Regions from separate parts of the Homo sapiens genome. Here region 1 is linked to region 2. Evidence: promoter capture Hi-C in 16 types of primary human blood cells and fetal thymus (Javierre and others, 2016). All regions are on one chromosome and are shown on one strand. The core of a region is centred on a gene start or on the middle of the fragment in contact, and the rest is flanking DNA. Distances in the headings are between cores, read along the strand shown.

Region 1 (5,208 bases), core at 561-3,060, 320 kb before region 2:
CTAGCAAGGAAGAGATAAAGACAACTCAATTTCACCCTTCTTCAAATATATTTTACCTAGAACAGATCCTATATTTTTATGCAGATCATATTTAAGGCTGCCTGGATTTCTCCTCTGAAAAGCAAAGCATATGGAAATTCAAATACTCAAGTATATTTACTTTAAATAATTAATATCAAAAATAGAAGGAGAAGCAAGATTCTAAAATATGTATTTGCCTAGTGTACTTTCCCATTGTGATAGTTACTGTTTGGTCTTAGCCAGGGATAAATTTCAAATATGAGAAATCAATGAAATCCATTCCATTGAGAATTATCTGGAGAAGAGTGATCCCAGACCCACTGAGTAGTTTTTATTTCTCATTTATGATCAAGAATGGAATCTACTTATCCCAAAGTTCATTTGGCCTGCTGATACTAAGTACCTTCCCTACCTCCAGCCACCATAAACAATACTTTGTCCTATATGGCAAGACTCTGGGCTGGAGTTCAAGGCCTTTCACAGTTTGATTGCTTATCTAAGAGTTCTATGAGTTGGGAGAGGGATAGAGCCAATATTGTGTGGAAACAGAGGCACCCACAGAGAGAGGACACCCTCATGCTGCTGATAGACAGCTCAACCGCCTTGAGTGCCAGCTGAGACAAGTGCTTTCCCCAAATCGACATTTTGTGACTTTTTGAACTTGCATTTCTACCCCCCCACTTTTTTTTTGGTATGTTTAAACTACTACAAGAGTCTTGCCTCGAGACAAACTTTCTAACCCTGGTTTTATTATACTACCATCTCAAAAATAATAATAATAATAATTCAAGAAAAAGAAGCTCGGCCGGGTGCAGTGGCTCACGCCTGTAATCCCAGCACTTTGGGAGGCCAAGGCAGGCGGATCACGAGGTCAGGAGATCGAGACCATCCTGGCTAACACAGTGAAACCCCATCTCTACTAAAAATACAAAAAATTAGCTGGGTGTGGTGGCGGACGCCTGTAGTCCAAGCTACTCGGGAGGCTGAGGTAGGGGAATGGTGTGAACCCAAGAGGCGGAGCTTGCAGTGAGCCAAGATCGTGCCACTGCACCCCAGCCTGGGCAACAGAGCAAGACTCCGTCTCAAAAAAAAAGAAGTTCAAGCTTCTTGCTCAGGCACTGAGGCTCAGCATAATCCAGCCCTACCTCAGGCCCCCAGCTCCTCAGCAAGCCCCAATTGGTCTATGCATGGTCACCCACACGAGCCTGCCCTTTGCTCATGCCCCATGAGCACTTACTCATAGTACGTGCTAAGTAAACATTTGTTCCAAGTGAACGAATTTAAGACCTACCATTTTCAAGGCTCAGTTCAAATTTTAGATTATATACGAATCCTTCCATGACCACCACAGTCTGAAGGTATCATTTCATCTTCTGAATTTCAGTTATCGCTCATGTACTTAACAAGTTCTATGTAATACCTACTGCGAGGCAGGTATCAGGGCTCAACCCAGAATAGCTACCGTCCTGCCCTGAAAGAGCCTGGAGTCCAGTGGGGAGAGTTATGAAGTTTAACTGCTGAACAACGTTGTGGGTGCTGGAATATTTAAATACAAAAGCTTTCTTATTGTTATATATATTTATTGAGCTCCCTACTAGGATTAGGAACCAGCCTAGGTACTTTTTATGGGTTCTGATTCAATCCTGATGGGCCATTTTACAAGGAAAAAGAAAAGAGACTCTGAAAAGTTAACTTGGTTTCCCCTGACTATTTGGATAAGCAGAGTCTGGATTCAAACCCAGTTGAGTCTGGATTCCTTCCACCATCTACCCTGCCTCCCAGGCCTGAGGTGTAGAATGTATTCTGGAAATACAAGTAGTCAGACTAGGAAGAGGAAGTCATCCCAGGCAGAAGGAACAGCAGGAGATGCATTCCCAGAATGGTGAATGGTTCAGAAAGATCAGAGCACAGTTATATGTTGAAAAAAAGAAGTAGGTTAGACTGTGAGCACTGGACTCAGTCCAGTAGACTATAGAGGAGCTTCAGGATCCATGTCGTGTGTCCCCAACAAGATAAGCTTTTTTTTTTTGGCCAGGAGGGATGGAATCTTGCTCTTGTGGTCCAGGCTAGAGTGCAGTGGTGCGATCTCGGCTCACTGCAACCTCTGCCACTTGGATTCAAGCAATTCTTCTGCCTCAGCCTCCTGAGAAGCTGGGATTGAAGGCACCCGCCACCACACCCGGCTACTTTTTGTATTTTTAGTAGAGATGGGGTTTCACTATGTTGGCCAGGCTGGTCTCAAACTCCTGACCTCAAGTGATCCACCCTCCTCAGCCTCCCAAAGTGCTGGGATTACAGGCGTGAGCCATCATGCCCAGCCAAGATAAGCTTTCTTAAGAGCAGGCACCACAGCCCCTTTCTGTATTCTCACACCATCAGGTATGTATTCAATACAACTGGTGGAAAGTCCACGGGCTTTTCTGGATCATTTAGTTTCATGTCCCCATTGGGACCCCATGGTTCTACGCAGCTTTATGAATGCTGACTATCTGTGCCTCCAACCAGGCTTGGCACCTCAGAAACCAGTGACCACCTCAGACCAAAAGCAAACCTTCTCTAGTTGCCACTAAGTGGGCTAGGGCTATCTTTTCTACTTTCCAAAACTCCTGCCATTCCCTGGGTTCCTTCATTTCCGGGGGTCATGTAATAGCAAAGCTGTCTGAAGATTATCTCAATAGCACTTAAGATGTGCTAGACACTATGTGCATTCATTTAACCCTCATAACTTCCGGAACTAGGTTCTAATATGCCCATTTGACTGACAAGGAAATAGAAGCTTAGAGAGCCTGATCTAGAGTGCAGGTTTCCAATCCCAGTGCTCATTTTCTTAATCACTTAGCCATGATACCCATCAGGCAAAGAGATTAAGGAAATCTGGGCAGTCCCTCATGAAGGACCAAAGAAAGAAGTTGCTGAGATCTTGAGGAAAACACGTCTAGCTCCAGCTTGCCACTCTCATTGCATCCCTATGCAACGAATGCAAGAATCATTTCACTAAGAAGTGACCAGAGAAACCCATTCCCATATGATTAGACCCTGGACTTCAGATGCCCTGAGAGAGGATTGGAGTCCTTCAACCTCCTTTCCTGAGGAACACCTCATCAAAGCCATCGCCATCTGCATCTATTCTTCTAGCTCCTTCCCTGCCACACTAATTCCATTTATGCAAATATGTTCTATGCCAGGTAGTGCTCAAGGGGCTGGTAATACAGCAAGTAACACAAATGACAAGATCCCTGCAGTCTTGAAGCTTAACATCTGGCAAAGGTGACAAGTAAAAGAGATGATTTTTTTTTTCTCGAGATGGAGTCTCACTTTGTCACCCAGGCTAGGGTGCAATGGCACAATCTTGGCTCACTGCAACCTCCACCTCCCAGGTTCAAGCAATTCTCCTGCCTCAGCCTCCCAAGTAGCTAATACTACAGACAGGCAGTACCACGCCCGGCTAATTTTTGTATTTTTAGTAGAGATGGGGTTTCACCATGTTGGCCAAGCTGGTCTTGAACTCCTGACCTCAGGTGATCCACCTGCCTCAGCCTCCCAAAGTGCTGGGATTACAGATGTGAGCCACTGCACCCAGCCCAAATGAGATGATTTCTGATGGTACACGCTGTGAATGATAGAGATACTGGTGGCATGGAGGTGGGAGGCTGATTTAGAAAGTCCTTCCTGGGAGGTGACATTTTAATTCATACCCCAATGACAAGGAGCTACCCTTCAAGGCTCCAGGATCTACCTTATACTTGGCCAACTGAAAAAGACATTAATGATGATCTGGTCTCAACTTCTTATTTGTAAGTGAGCAAACAGAGGCTCAATGAGATTAAAAGACTAGGACAAGGTTTCCCAAGTGACTGCAATTTGTTTCTTCTTACTATTCTACAGAGACTTTCGATATACACATTTGAAATCTAGGCATCTTACATCGTGTTTTTAACATATTCATGGTTTTTTGTTTTTTAGACAGGATCTCAGTCTGTCACCCAGGCTGGAGTGCAGTGATGCAATCACGGCTCACTGTAGCCTCGACCCCCTGGGCTCAAGCAACCCTTCCATTTCAGCCTCCCAAGTAGCTGACACCACAGACACATGCCACCATGCAGGATTAATTTATTATTATTTTTTGTAGAGACGGGGGTCTCACTTCATTGCCCAGGCTGGTCTCGAACTCCTGGCCTCAAGTGATCCTCCCGCTTGGGCATCCCAAAGTGCTGGGATTACAGGCATGAGCCACCATGCAGGACCACACATTTGTACTTATAATTTTATTTTCAGTACACTCTTGGGGAAAAGATGACAGACCTTCACTTGATCAATAATGAAATTGAGGCTCCAGTTGGCTAAGTAGTTTGTCTAATGGCCTGTCACTAGCAACTGAATCAAAACTCTGATGATTTGTATTCCAGTCCTATGTTCTTTCCCCTGGGGGAGAAGTAGCTGCCTAGCCAGTGGTCTATGAATATAAGACATCATTACCAGCAACTTCACACCCTATGGTGCAGAGAACATACAAAAGTCAAAGATAAGCACAAGTTACTATCATAACACAGAAATTCAAAGACCCTGAGTAATTTGCTGCAGACTTCAGATGACTGGACAATCATGGCCTGAGGCAGTCCCTGCTACCCCCTCTTGCCTTCTAGATACAAGACTGAAAGCTGCCCTGGTGACACATTGCAGAGATTTTAGTAAATAAAGAAGAATGTGTTTCTCAGAGCCAACGCCCAAATCTTCATAGCTGGACCCAACCCAGACCAGGAGTCTTCATAGCGAGTGAACCCTTAGGTAAGTGTCATACTTAAGTCTCATGAGTCTTCTGCTTAAGAAATAAACTACTAGTGGTTCCCAAACCTACCTGCACTGATCAGAATGATTCTGGGAGAGTTTTCAAATAAAGATCTTTCAATTCACACAAGGCCTGGAGACTTAGAAATGCCAAAGGTGAGAGCCTGGGGAATGTATGTTTTAAAATTCAGCCAGCCTGGAAATCCACTGGTTTTTCTCATGTCTTAGTGCTGCAGTGTGATACAGAGAGGAAAGATGCCTGCTTTTATTATCTAGTGGGCAAGCTAAGTTAGGCTGCATCCTTTAAAGGCTGCTTCCAGAAGAGTCTTCTCTGCTACCCAAGGCCCCTGTATCAGTAGGAAGGTCCCGGGCATATCCGCCTGGTTACCTGTGAAGTCAGTT
Region 2 (5,328 bases), core at 152-2,651:
TTTGGCTGGACATGGAGAGAGAGAAGAATTGAAGATTGGTAAGGATAATGTGGAGTGAATCTGGGGAGATCAAGAAAAGGATGAACAGACTGGAATTTGGGGAGATTGGAGTTCCTCAAACTATAAGTGTGGCAGTTAAGCCTCTTTGCCCTGTTCCTGTGGCCACTTTTAGGGCCCTTGTGCAATACCCCTAGGTGGGGGTGGAGGGAAGGTTGAGTGAACTCAAGGGGGCAGAGTCCACTGTATTGCTCCATTCTGAGCTACCAAACAGCAGGTATGTCAAAGATGGAGGAATCATGGGGCTAGATCAGATACCAGTAATCCTAGTGGGTACCCTAGTAAAATTAGGACCTGAAAATATTTCAGAAACATACTTCTTATTTGTCCCTCTCCATTAGGAGGAGATGCCCTCTAGGAGTCATACATTTCTTTTCCTCCTTTGTGTCAGAACACAAGAAGGATTAAGGGTGGCATACCCATCCCGTCTAGAATATCAGTATTCAAATGAAAAGGAAACCAATCTCTTTTCATCAGCTCTAGAGAGCTGCAATTTTAATCTCCCTCTCTCATGGAATAATGGGATGCAAACCAAACATGCAAATCAATATTTGTTTTTTCTAAGTCAACAGTTCTTGTATTTTCCCAAATATCACTCCTTCCATTAATCTCTTCTTTTCAAATTCTGAAGTTCTCAGTCTTTTATGATGACAGGAGTTGGAGAGGGGCTAAATCCCTCCTGCCTAACTCCCCTATCTTATGGGTAAGGATATGATTGGGGGAAGAGTCCTGCAAGAGGGAGAATAGAATGGAGGGACTAGAGTTGTGGGGAGAAATCATTTACAGGGAGCAGCCCCCATGCTTGGAATCTCAATGTGAAGGGCATTGCTAAGTGGGGGCAGGATAGAAGGGTATCAGTGACTCATCATCTGAGGTCATATTTGGCCTTGGTAAGAAAACTACAGAATAGAGGACGTAGGGAACTCCTTCTAAAACTTCATCAGGAGTCTTGAGGTAATAAGGTAAAGAGAGGGCTAAGACTGCCAGAGGAGAGACAGAGAATTAAACTTCAAAAAGCTAGAGGCCAGAGGCCAGAAAGAAATAAGACAGAAAGAGAAATGGAGATTGGGGCACCTTGGTAGGGAGAGATCCCAGCATTTGGACGAGAGACATCCAAGTAGGTGTTTGTAATTTTATAAAAGTCTAACTTCAATATAAAAGCTTATTAAAGGAATTGCAATTTCATTTTGACTTACTGTTTCCAGAGGTCAAACATTACTCTGCTATCCAATTCTCCAGCCATGATTCCCTACTCTGTGGGTCAGCTCCAGCCAGGGGGTCCTCCGTGTCTCCCCCAGGTCCCCAGGCCGGCTGCTGTCTCACTGAGGTCAGGGAACCAGAGAAGGTTTGGTATGGGGGGAAGGGGGAGTATATGGCTGGCCAGAGTACTGGACAGCTGAGCAGGGAGGGAGGTGGCTACTGAGTTGACGGTTTTAAAAATAGCTAAGTCCAAAATTCCAGGAACGTTGGTGGGGGTAGGGTGTGGGAGTTGGGGGAGTGGGGAGGGTTAGAGGATTAGAAAGAATATGGAGTATTGAGTGCCAAGTCAGGGAGGGAGGAGAGAAATATGACAGACAAGTTGGATATCCAATTCCAGCTTGTGTGACTCTGTGGTCACTGCCTACTCCAGGCAGCCCTCCAGCATTTTCAATAATGTTGAGCTCCTGGCCTTTAAAAATTACAGTGGGCAATTGGATACCTTTCATTTACCATGTTCATCCCTGCTATGCTGAATATTACATTTAGGTTCTACAGATAGTATCTAGGAGGTAGCTGACTTTGAATAAGATCCATAGCAGAGGTAGTTCATAGCCCCTCTCCTATCTTTGCAGAGTATTTCAGAAGGACGAAAAAAGCCAGCTGTCCAGAGAAGAAATCTGAGCTGTGAGTTGCTTAGGATGAGGGTTTGTTCAGTCTATCCAGCTCAGATCCTTGCAGCTGTCTATCCTCCTACCTACTCCATTTTCATTACTTTAGTTTGTACAGCAATTCATCTTCCTCTCCCTCATGAATACACAAAAAATAAAGGCTCCCGATTTGCTTGGAGAGAAGGCTAACAAAGGCAAAGAGGTGAAGAAAGAATGGAAATAGAATTCTTCTAAAGAAAGAGTTGGAGAAATAGAAAAAGATTCAAAAATATACTTTTCCTTCCTTCCTTCCTTCCTTCCTTCCTTCCTTCCTTCCTTCCTTCACTCCCTCCCTCCCTCCCTCCCTCCTTCCTTCCTTCCTTCCGAGATGAGGTCTCACTATGTTGACCAGGCTGGTCTTGAACTCCTTGCCTCAATGAATCCTTCCATCTCAGCCTCTCAGAGTGCTGGGATTACAAGTGTGAACCAACATGCCTAGCCTCAGAAAGATACTTTTATGGAATAACATAATCTTGTGACCATAAATATTGCAAAATCTCAGCACTTTGGGAGCTGAGGCAGGAGGGTCACTTGAGCGCAGGAGTTTGAGGCTGCAGTGAGCTATGATAACGCCATTGCACTCCAGCCTGGGCAACAGTGAGACCCGCCCCCCCACCCCCCTTAAAAAAGAAAAGAGATACTGCAACCAAGGGATTTAGCCATGTCATGTTTTTGCAGCCATAGGTATATCTGAGATCATCATCTTTTAGTACTTGCCAAGTGAAATTAACAGAAGGACCGATTCCAAATACGGTCACTGTATTAGGGTTCTCTAGAGGAACAGAACTAATAGGGCATATATCTATATCTGTATCTACCTCTATCTATATAGAGATCTATATCTATATCCATGTCTATCTATCTAGCCATCTAGACTGGCCATCACCAGTCTGCTTTCTGTCTCTCTAGATTTATTAATATCTATATAGATATGGATATCTATATAGGTAGATATATAAATAAAGGGGAATTTATTAAGTATTAACTTACACAATCACAGGGTCCCACAGTAGGCTGTCTGCAAGCTTGAGGGGCAAGGAGAGCCAGTCTCAGTCTCAAAATTGAAGAACTTGGAGTCTGATGTTCAAGGGCAGGAAGCATCCAGCATGGGAGAAATATGTAGGCTGGGAGGCTAGGCCAGTCTCTCCTTTCATATTTTTCTGCCTGCTTTTTATTCTAGCTGTGCTGGCAGTGAATTAGATTGTGCTCACCCAGATTAAGGGTGGATCTGCCTTTCCCAGCCCACTGACTCAAATGTTAATTTCTTTTGGCAACACCCTCACAGACACACCCAGGATCAATACTTTGTATCCTTCAATCCAATCAAATTGACACTCAGTAATAACCAACACAATCACTAAGCCATCTTTACCAGTTGGCTCTATTTTAATACAGAGTCTAGAGGCCCTCATAGCACTCTTCTCAGGTATATATATGACAAATATTTTTGTCAAATATATACTTCTCAGGTATATATATATGACAAATATTTCTCAACCATTAGAGGCCATATCACAAGCAGTTTCATTATAGAAATGTAAAATGCTTCTAACCAAACTATTCAAGTGACTTTAAAACATAATAATTTGACTATGACAGCCTAAGTGGGATATACTATAATGCCAGAAAATAAATGCAAAAATATTTTTAAATAGCCATATTATGGTGTTAGTGTTGGTATTGTTATTCTGAGATTATTTTAGTTATGAGATAAAACAAATGATTAATAATGTTAGTGTCTCTGAGAACCAGAATTTTTGGGGTGGAATAAAGAGATACATATTTACGATTGATGAAGTTAAGAGAAAACTCCGTAATTCTGAATTTAAATTGCAAATATAACTCTGAACTCATGGTTTATTTTATCCTTAAAATTTTCCTAGCTTTACCCTAAAAAGGCCTGGAAACAATGATCCAGTAAAAATAAACACCTCTAGTACTCAAATTGTGCTATGTAAATACCATTTTCTGTTAAAAGGGACCAACAAACAACTCCTTGGATAAGTGGCTGATTTCAGGTTTGGGGCAGGTATTGTCCAAGATAGGCAAGGAAGCTTTCAAAGAGTGTTAGGATTGTAATAAAAGAACTTAGGAGCCAACTAGAATAGTTCCCATTGGCCAAAGATGGGGCAATTTAAGTATCAAAATGGATACTATCTGCAATGGATTGAAATTCATAAAATATGTTTAAATCCATGAATTCACAATGATACTTAAAAATACAAACCCATTGGTCATTGTTGGAGAATGCTGGCAGATCAACTCATTATTTTAAAAACTGCTGGTAATTGGAAAGAATCAAGTATTTATCCTGGTTTTCTTTTGGGAACTGTATCTCAAGATGAGGGGGAAATTTCTCTTTATAGAAGCATTCCAGTAAATAATTGAAGAAGGGATAATATAATTAGAATATCAACATTTTGTAAATCCAAATGAATTAATATATCTAGGCAATGGTCAACAATGACTGTGGCAGGGCACAGTGGCTCACACCTGTAATCCCAGCATTTTGGGAGGCTGAGGTGGGAGGATTGCTTAAGCCCAGGAGTTCAAAACCAGCCTGGACAACATAGTAAGAGCCCATCTCTACGTAAACAAAAAAACAGTGGCTGTTATTCATCATGAAAACAGAGATAAACATGTTTTCCTGATCATAGAGTACATAACTCCACCTTGCATGAAGTAGCCATACCAAAAACAAACAAACAAACAAACAAACAAACAAACCAGTCTGAATCTGATTAGAGCTAACTACTAATTTACAGGAAATACAGGAGACATTAAGTGGTAACTCAAAGGTGCAAATTCAGACTTTGTGAATACTCTACAGGACAAATGACCTGGGTTCGTTCTTTCTTTTCTTTTTCTTTTGAGACAGGGTCTCCCTCTGTCACCCAGAGATCTCGGCTCACTGCAGCCTCTGCCACCTGGGTTCAAGTGATTCTCATGCCTCAGCCACCTGAGTAGCTAGGATTACAGGCATGTGTCATCACACTCAGCTAATTTTGTATTTTTAGTAGAGATGGGGTTTTGCCATGTTGGCCAGGCTGGTCTCGAACTCCTGGGCTCAAGTGATCCGCCCACCTTGGCCTTCCAAAGTGCTGGGATTACAGGCATAAGCCACTGCGCCCTGCCAATATGTTCTTATATAAATATGTATATATTACATACACACACACAAATATGTGTGTGTGTGTGTGTGTGTATATATATGTATATTCTTCACATAGTCAATTGATATTGGAGAAATTTGACCATTATCTTTGTCAAAGCTCATTAACTAAACACCACTGGAAACAAATCTGTAGTCAAAAAAGTTAAATCTACTGGCTTGCTGTAGCAAGGGAGAGAATGCCCCAAAGGA

The links. The method cuts DNA at HindIII sites, captures the fragments that hold promoters and counts their contacts. A CHiCAGO score of 5 or more calls a contact.
Region 1: a fragment that was not itself captured here is called in contact with the fragment with the promoter of HJV in region 2 in 1 of 17 cell types (activated CD4 T cells); the score reaches 5.5 in activated CD4 T cells.

What each region holds. Positions count from the first base shown.
Region 1 is chr1:145,701,788-145,706,995 of GRCh38, forward strand. The region is part of intron 1 of PDZK1 (PDZ domain containing 1); the gene reads right to left. Among named protein-coding and RNA genes, the nearest start is that of PDZK1, 3.0 kb to the right of the region's middle. RefSeq lists an enhancer at 4,629-5,208. The HindIII fragment of the contact is 459 bases long and covers 1,582-2,040 here.
Region 2 is chr1:146,020,334-146,025,661 of GRCh38, forward strand. It overlaps HJV (hemojuvelin BMP co-receptor), which reads right to left and starts at 1,402. Exons shown (of 4, transcript NM_213653.4): 1 at 1,254-1,402. The HindIII fragment of the contact is 1,771 bases long and covers 1,221-2,991 here.